Linked DNA regions of Homo sapiens: region 2 is linked to region 1. Evidence: promoter capture Hi-C in 16 types of primary human blood cells and fetal thymus (Javierre and others, 2016). All regions are on one chromosome and are shown on one strand. The core of a region is centred on a gene start or on the middle of the fragment in contact, and the rest is flanking DNA. Distances in the headings are between cores, read along the strand shown. Region 1 holds the start of EDN3 (endothelin 3). Region 2 has its middle 34 kb from the start of GNAS.

Region 1 (4,625 bases), core at 800-3,299:
AGAACTTAGAGGTGTCTGATCCAAGTCCCAGATCTTAGAGATGGGGAAGCCAATGCCAGAGAGTTGGTGACCCAGGCAAGGTCAAGCCCTCTGTATGGCCTGCAAGATGATGTGCCTGCAGGAGGGGTTCCCTGAACACTGGGAGTCATCAAAGCCTCCCCCTGTCAGAGCCACACTCTCTCCACATGGCCCCAGGAGAAGGCTGACTTCCCCACTGGACGAACCCCAAGACAAATTCAGGATGGTGCTGTCTAGGCCCTAGGGTAAGAGAGTTTCTAAGGACTGCAGGAGAGAAGGGAAGGCCCTCTGTGACCATGGCAGTGGGTGACTGGAGCCAGCCTGTGGAAGGCCCAAGGACGAGCTGATGTGAATTCACCCTGCCTTGGCATCCAGGGGGGCCCACAGGAAGGAAGGGAGCCCATCCCAGGGGAATTCTACCCCGAGTGGACTGTGCAGGTTCTGTCAGGCTCAGCTAAACCCACCCTTAGACTCCCTGGAGACCAGGATGCTTTCAAGGAATTTTAAACCCCTTGGATCCTGGTGGGGTCAACAGTGAGTATGAGCCCCCTTGGCCCCTGGGGAATGAGATAAACTTTCGGGGCTTTCTCTATCTCAGAAAAGAGGCTCAGAGAGACATCTCAGGTATCTAATCCCCCTGGTCAGTTCACTTCATTCAGAGGGAGGGCTCCTCCTTCCACAGGATCAAACTCAGGATTGAGTTTCTCTTGGGCCAGGCCCTCAGGGGGGATGTGGGTCACACCCCTGACCTGCAGAAGAGACCTGGGCTGGCAAGAGGCCCCAGCAAGAGCTAAAGGCTGTGCCAGGGCAGGCTCTGGGCTAACTGAGCGGGGCTGGGGTGGAGTGAGGTCCTCCTGGGAATGAGCAGATGTGGGCCTGGTCCGGGAGCCACGTTCCTCACCACAAAAGGCTGACTTACTCGGGAGTGTTGATCCAAATGATGTCCAGGTGGCAATAGTAGACACACTCCTTGTCCTTGTAGGTGAAGCACGTGCAGCGCCTGGATCGGTGGTGCTCAGGGGCCCCCTCGGCCGCCTGCTCCTGCCCAGGGCTTCCAGGGCTTGGACCCTGCAGTGCTGTCGGGGCCACAGTCCCCTCGCCAGGGCCAGCCACAGTCTCCTCGCCAGGGCCAGCCACAGTCTCTTCACAGTCCCCCTCAGATCTGGCTGCAGTGGGGGCCTGGGACACGCCGCGCCTGCCAGCATCCCCAGACTGGGAGCAAGGCACGAATCCTGCAGAAGGCAGATTGAGGGGCTCCTAAGCTGAGTGTGCAGACCCCTCAACACCCGCCACCCCCAAACACCTGAGGAGGGGGGTGGAGCAAGCAAAATGTCTGCAAAGTTTCCAAAGCTCTGCGCAGTTTCTGAAAAGTTTCCAAGCTATCTGCACACTCTGTGAAAAGCTTGCAAGCTATCTGCACCCGTTGAAAACTTGCATGCATTTTGCATACTTTCTGCAAACTTTGCCAGGGTTTGGCACAGCCTCTGAATAGTTCGCAAACTTTCTGAAAAGTCCCCAGTTTCATGAAAAATTGACCAAGTCGGCCCAGGCAGCAGGTCTCCAGCCAGTGCGCGGGCTGCAACTCCCGGAGCCCGTGCGGGTAGTCGTTGCGCGCCGCTTCTGCTCCCCAGCCCTCCCCCAGGCGTCTTCACGAGTGCAGAGCCCAGGCAAGAGTTTGCTCCCCGCGACGCACATCTTCTCCGCGCCTCGGGTCCCCCGCCCTGGGTCCTTTTGTGTGCGCTCGCGCCAGGAGAGGCGCGCCGCCCCGTGCGCTTACCTGCGGCGGAGGTCACTGTGAGCCCGAAAAGGAGCCACAGCCCCGGCTCCATGAACCTAGATCAGGCGCCGGAGCACCGGACCAGGAGGACGGCCGCTTGTGGCCGCGAAAGGGCACTGGGGCCGGGTACAGCTGGCCTCGCCCTCCAGCTGTGGGGGTTCGAGGCCGGCCGATCGCTCGCTGCGTCTCCAGCTCCGGCCAGGAGTTGGCTGCGGCGGTCATAAACTTTCAGAGCGCGCTGCCCATCCCTGCGCGGAGCTGGCCGGCTGTGGCTCGGGCTTTTCTGGCTTCTGCACCACCCCCGTCGCCTCCCCGCCCCCCAGAGGGGCTGGAACTGCCTCGCCGGGCCTTTGAACCCGGGCGCACTGGGGGTCGCCTCCCAGGCGCTGGGGGGAGCTGGCCAGGAGCGCAGCGGCCCGAGGCGCACCCAGGACAGCGAGGGGCGGGGGCGGCGTGGCGTGGCGCGGCTGGGTGGGGTGGGGTAGGGTGGGGTGGGGGCCGGGACAGCTGCCAGCTGCCGGAAGGCCACGAGAGCGCGCGCACACACGCACACGCGCGCTCACACTCACAGGCGCACCCCCGCCCGCCAGTTCGCCGCTCCGGAGTAGCAGCCCCCCATCCAAGAGCAAGAACAGATGAGAAAAGGCTGTGCTCAAGGGGTGTTATCTTTTCTATCAGGGGCTGAGGGAAAGACACATTTCTCATTGTTCCCCGAGTGACACCTTCCCCTTGAAGAGCCTGCTTGCCAAGGAACTCGGTGTACTTTACACTCTTGACTCACGCCTCGGGCTGGCTCCCTACCTCTCCCAGGAGTTCAGAGCCTGCGTGTGGGGCAGTGGCCTGGGAGCAAAGTCAACAAAGATCCTGGGTTAGCGGTCCTGTGGTGTCCAGGGCTTCCTCAGCCATCTGCACAGGTTGGGTGGCTTCAGGTGAGAGTCGGGCTCCTCTCCCTAAAGGCCAAGTTCATTCACACAACCGTCCCTACCAAGGGAAATGACCTCCCAAGAGAGCCCCCTACTTCCTTCATAGCCTTCCAAGTCCTGTGTGTGGGAGGCTGTCCCCATCTCCAGCTCAGATAAAAATGTCTGAGACTGGGAAGTCCTCCTGACTTCTCAGGGCACTTGTGGTCAAAGGACCCTCCTTTCATAACAGATGGGGTTGGGGGAGGGGCAGTGCTTCACATCTGTAATTCCAGCTCTTTGAGAGGCCAAGGTGGATGGATTGCTTGAGCCTGGGAGTTCAAGACCAGCCTGGGCAACATAGCGAGACCTCATCTCTAAAAAATGGGGTTGAATTGGGTCCTGCCCTCTACTAGCCTTAACGACCAGCTTCTGAAAACTAGAAAGCAGCTGAAGTGACCAGAGCAGTTTCTGAGGACAGTCCAAAAGAGTGCTACAACATCCCCCTGGCTTGATAGCTCAGGACACCTGTCCTCTGAACACAGCTGCTGTACCAGGAGGAAGCCCTAACAAGCCCACCTGGAGAGATCACCTGGAGAAACCTACGTGGAGAGAAACCGAGGCCTCCCAGCCGACCACCAGTGTCAGCCACTGACCTGAGTGAATGTGCCTTCCGATGATTTGAGCTCCCAGCCCTCAAGACTTCCAACTGAGGAATAGCTGTCCCGCTGTACCCTGTCCGAACTTCCCACCCACACAATCCATGAGCATAATAAATGGTTGTTTTACAGCACTAAACTCTGGGTAAATTGGTACAGAGCTGCAGTAACTAGAGTAGCACTCAAGCTTCCAGCACTGAAGCTGATGCTGAAGTTCTCCATCCCCCCACTCCCATCCCATCCTGCCTAGCCCTTGAATCCAAGTGTTTATTTGTTTGTTTTTGCACTTGATGCTTTGAAAATAAGAAAAACCCAAGACTCACAATATCTTCTGTTCCTGCTGGGCTAGAATTTGGATCATTTTAGTATTATCTTTGTTTGTTGGGGCTACTATAACAAAACGCCATAAGCTGGGTGGCTGATAAACCGCAGAGTTTTATTTTTCACATTTTTGGGGTCTGGAAAACCAAGATCAAGGTGCTGGTAGATTCGGTGTTTAATAAGGGCTCGATTTCTGATCATGGATGGTGACTTCTCACTGCATCCTCAGTTGTGGAAGGGTCAAGGCAGCTCTCTGGGGGTCTCTTTTCTAAGGACACCAACCCCATTCATGAGGGCTGCAACCCTCATGACTTAATCACCCCTCAAGGGCCCCACCTCCTGACATCATCACCTTCATGGATAGGATTTCAACAGATAAATCTGGAGAGGACAAATATTCAGACCATAATAATTACTATCTCTTTGGAATTAAAATTTCCATCTTCAACAAAATAAAAAGTTCTTGGATTGGGGGATGGCTGGAGGAATAGAAAATATACTAATCAGCTAAAAGGAGAAAAGGAGTAGGAGGAGGTTTCCGGGTACCATGTTCAGACACAGGAGGTATCATGGCTGCTTAGACCACTCTCTGGGTCTATGGCCTTCAGTAGCTTGAAGCCGACCACCACTTGTCTTCACTGGGACTAAAAATCAACAAACCCTGGATGAGCCTCTCAGGCACCAGGAGGTGCTAGCCAAATACCAGGATGGAGCTGGCCCTGCCCTCTGGGTCTTCTACTCTAGTTGAGGTAAGGAAGTTCAGAAATAGATCGCCAAGGATCCAGGATGCTGAGAACATAAAACGCCGCACAGAGCTAAGAGAAGAAGACAGTGTGTTCAGCTGGATGATCAGAGGAGGCAGCATTGTCCTTGGTCCCTAAAGCAAGCCGGGCGCCATGATTTGAGGCAGCAGCCTGCAGTGACACTCGCCAACACCAGCTCTCAAGCGAA
Region 2 (4,625 bases), core at 1,569-4,068, 440 kb after region 1:
CAGGGATCTGTGCGTTTTGCTATAATTCAGAAAGTAGCAGACTACTCGACACGTGTCATTTGGCAAGGGATTTTAAGAGCACATAGTATACTTAGAATAATCATGCTTTACATTTAAATAATGCTTTATAGCTTATCATCACATTTCTGGTAAGCATTATCTGAATTTGAAATTTGTGATCCTTTACCTACCTTGCAGTCTTTGAGTAAAAGTGCCTTATGGCCGGGCGCGATGGCTCATGCCTGTAATCCCAGAACTTTGGGAGGCTGAGGCGGGCGGATCACGAGGTCAGGAGTTTGAGACCAGCCTGACCAACATGGTGAAACCCCATCTCTACTAACAATACAAAAATTAGCCGGGCATGGTGCATGCACCTGTAATCCTAGCTACTCAGGAGGCTGAGGCAGGAGAATCGCTTGAACCCAGGAGGCAGAGGTTGTAGTGAGCCAAAATCACACCATCGCACTCCAGCCTGGGCGATAGAGCGAGACTCCTTCTCAAAAAAAAAAAAAAAAGTGTCTGATATTTAATCTCTGAGCTTTTGGTTTATTTGCCTATGAAATGGGGCCCTATCACGTTTTTATTGCCCAGGACTGTTTCAAGAGACAAATATGACTAGATGAAAGGCTTTAAAAAATGTAAAATGTGGCCAGGCACAGTGGCTCATGCCTGTAATCCCAGTACTTTGGGAGGCTGGGTAGATCACTTGAGGTCAGGAGTTCGAGACCAGCTTGAACAACATGGTGAAACCCCATCTCTACTAAAAATACAAACAATTAGCCAGGCATGGTGGCACACGCTTGTAATCCCAGCTACTCTGGAGACTGAGGCAGGTGAATTGCTTGAATCTGGGAGGCAGAGGTTGCAGTGAGCAGAAATCCTGCCATTGCACTCCAGCCTGGGTGACAGAGGGAGACTTTGTTTCAAATCAAACAAACAAAAAATGTAATCAGAATGTGTTATTATTATTACTGGTTACTAATCATACTGAGAGCAGTGAGATTTTCCTTTTCAAGTTAGGAGGATACATACAGTAAGGGGATGACCCCCAATTCTTTTTGCTTAAAACCAGTTTTCCATTGTAAATAATGGGGGTAAATTTTAAACATTAATCTACCTATATGGGAAAATTTTTTTTGAGAGAAATCTGTAAGAATTAAAACCAAGGTAGAATTTCAGACTTTGAGAAGCATGAATCTTACTAGGAGACTGAAAAGAGAAAATAATAAATCTATCTGGACTCCAAAATTTTGTGGCCTGATAAGCCATGTCCTTCCTACCACACCAAAAGCTCAGTGGAGGCATTTAGAATATAAAAAAATGGCTGTATGTTAAAAAAGAGAGAGAGAGAGAGAGAAAAGAAAAATAAAAAGGTGCTTCTGCAAGATGGAATACAATGCATACTGTTGCACTTGGTGGCATAAATAATCATACAATTAATTGTGATTCACTGTATAAATAAAGCATCATAGCAGAATAGCCATTATTATATATAGCATTTGCCTACACAATTTTAATAAATGTGGCAGATACTAAGAAACTCTGATCTATTAGCCCCATTCAGTTCTTAAGGAGGAAATCACACCTAAATGAAGTTTTAAAAAATGTTTAAGCCACCAAAATTATTTAAAAACGTAACAGAAACATGGAAACAGTCTATTGGTGGATAGTGTTGAGTAAGAAAAAGGCTTCTTTAAAAAGAACTCTTTAGATATTTTAGAATTTTAATCATATTACTGATTTCTATCTATCTTTCTCTCTCTCTCTCTCTCTTTGATTTCTTAGGATTCCCTGTAATGAGATTAAATTGTCCCGGCAATAAAAACAGAAAGGATAAGCACATGAACATACATTTTTTCAAGCAACAGATGAATCTGCATGTCACAAATTAGCAACCATATCAAAGGACAGCCATTTGATCTGCATTTTCAGTGGTAGGGATGTATGGATGTCTTGTTTTATATGTTGGGACTAAAAAGTTAGTAAAAAGTCTTGTCCTACATGTGAGTAAGTCCTCATCCTTCCTCCTCTCCCTGTCCCCCATCAATAATTCAGGTCCAGAAGAGGTACGTCACCTCTGCAAAAGGAAGCCTGGTCAAAAACTGTAGCCTGCTTTGACAAACTGCAGTGGTACAGTTTCAGCTAGCAGCTAACACTGGCTATCATATTTCAGGCTTATGTTAGACATGGCCCATGGTTTGCCAGCCCACCTTCTGGACTATGCTGCATCCAAAGGTGTTTGGCTACCAGCACCCGAGAACAAAGCCAGGACAAGGTACAAGGTGACCCCAGCAAATTTCCTTTTCTTAAAGTTAATTTTTACTCCTGGTGACAAAATAAGGGGAGACAAAGGAAACTTCTAATATTCTTAAGACTGGTCCCAAACATGGACAGTTTGCTGCAGGATTGATGGCTGCACAATCTATGGTATAAGTCTCCAGTCCTGATGTAAGTAGACTGTGTCTCCTCCACCCCCCACCTCCAGGAAGAATAGAAGACTCAAATCATGGTGCAAAAGCATTCCTTAGTGGAGATCTGCTAGGAAAGCTTCATTTCACAAAGGAGGCAACTGAGGCCCCGCATGTAAGGCACATCACCAATTTGACAATTAGGGGTCAGGTGCACACTGTCACTTGGGTCTCCTGTCTGTATGCATTTATGTCCTCCCACCCCCAATCTACAGGTTTGCTTCCCAGAGCTGTGCTTGGAATATTGAAATGGGTCTGTTATGGCAAAATCAGTTGTCTGCAGGGAAACCAGTGCATTGTCATTTAATGTTTGGTAGCTTTAGTGTAGTTGAGACATTTGAAATTTAAAACAACGACCATATTATATGTCTTTAGGTAAATGACAATGTCATGATCTACCTGGATGGGCATACACAAAATGATCCTCACATTTAAAATTGTGATTTGTGAGAGCCACATCACAATAGCACAGTTATATGCCAATAATGCCATTAATAAAAAACCATCACACATTCTAACATATTTAACAAATGTAGCGCAGCCTTAAAAACTGTGATCTTGAAATCCCTTGGAAGGTCTTAGAGAAAGTCTTAGAGAATAAAATGTAAAAATTAAGCTTGTGAAGTTTGTTTGGAAGTTTTCATTTAAACCACATATTCAGACCATTGCTAATTGATGCTTTGTTTAAATGTGGCAAAAATATTTAATGCCCCAGATTTGAAGTTAAGAAGTCTTGGGGGGCTGGGGGGAGGGTGGGGAACTGGGAATGGCCAGGGAAAGACTGGGAGATACAGGAGAGGGTCTTGCTGTGGGGTGAGGAGGGGGATCCTGGAGAGGGGAGGGCACCGAGAGGTGGGGAAATGTGAGCAGAGGAGGAGGGGGAAGGTAGAAGGCCACCAAAATACCCTCCTGACAAGAATATCATGATTTTTAACTTCTGTAATCAAAATACCTTTATATATTTTTTGTATCCAGAGCCAATTTGCAGAAGACCTTACCTTTGACAAGCCTCTTTGCCCCCAGCTAAAGCTGCCTGAAAAAATTCACATGCAAACATTTACTTGTTTTCACAAGTCATATTCACGGTTTTGCCATACTTTGTCCACACACTTCAAATACACTCAGAGCATTTTTTGAAAACTTTTATTTTAGTTGCATTTCAAACACAAAGGTGACATTCCACTCACAACACATAACCCCCATCTTTTTAAACCAAGCCCCTCCTACTGTACTCTTTGTAAAAATGATTGGCTTACCTCGGGCTCTTCGCTAGGAAGAAAAATTATTTCATATTTTTTAAACACAGCCACGCCCACCCCCTTGGAACCAGCCCCCAAGTGGTTTGGGATCCGGACTTGCCTACAGCAGGTTGTGTTTCCCCTTTCCCCCATCCCCCGACCAGGCGAGCTGTGTGTGTGCAGAATACCGAACTGAGGTGTGCAGCCCCGGGCGCCCCAGATACCTGTGTGTCTGGTTTTTCAACTGTAAAGGCGGGAGGGTTTGGCGAACGAATGAGAAGTGAGGAAACGCTTAGCGCAAAAGGAAAAAGAGAGAAAGACATACAGAAACAAGGTTACGCGGAGGCCGGCGAAAAGCGATTCCCCGCTCCCCCAGGCCAAGGGCCCCGCTTATTTCCCGGGAGGCCCCGCCACCTTCCCCGCGTGTCCTCCGCACCGCTTGCCGCAGAGCGCCCGGGCGCAGGTACCACCAGAGTGTGCGAACAGCGAAAGTTTTTTGCCCGGGCCATGGCGCAAACCACAACACAGCCCGTTCCCAAGTACAAGTACACAGTCGGCGGGTAATTTGGGGGTGCCGGGATAGGAACAGGGGACACTTCAGCGTATCATGCACAGGCGAACACAGAATATGGACACCAACACACACCAACGACAAGCTGTCTGAGTCCAAGCAGCCGTGCCAGGCGAGGCGGGGCGCGCCTTCCCCAATGACCCCAGCCCACCGTGGACCCCACCAGCCTAGCCAGGGGAGTCCCGGGGCCCCGGGGCCCCTCCCCGGCAGTTCCTGGCTCACCTGAAGCCCCTGCCTGTCCAGCTTACGGTTGCTGGCGCTGGCCTGTCCAGCCGGAAACGACCCTCAGTGTCGCTCGGCACCACTTTTCTCCCTGGAGGGCATATACTTCGGCCACCCGAATCCACC

The links. Contacts are between HindIII fragments. The CHiCAGO score rates a contact against its expected background, and 5 or more counts as called.
Region 2: a fragment that was not itself captured here is called in contact with the fragment with the promoter of EDN3 in region 1 in 4 of 17 cell types (total CD4 T cells, naive B cells, naive CD4 T cells and 1 more); the score reaches 6.4 in total CD4 T cells.

Annotation. Positions count from the first base shown.
Region 1 is chr20:59,298,035-59,302,659 of GRCh38, reverse strand. EDN3 (endothelin 3) reads right to left here and starts at 2,049. Exons shown (of 5, transcript NM_207034.3): 1 at 1,796-2,049; 2 at 938-1,250. The coding sequence starts at 1,847. The HindIII fragment of the contact is 2,120 bases long and covers 1,423-3,542 here.
Region 2 is chr20:58,855,519-58,860,143 of GRCh38, reverse strand. It overlaps a transcript of GNAS not described here. Among named protein-coding and RNA genes, the nearest start is that of GNAS, 34 kb to the left of the region's middle. RefSeq lists an enhancer at 3,801-4,625. The HindIII fragment of the contact is 537 bases long and covers 2,550-3,086 here.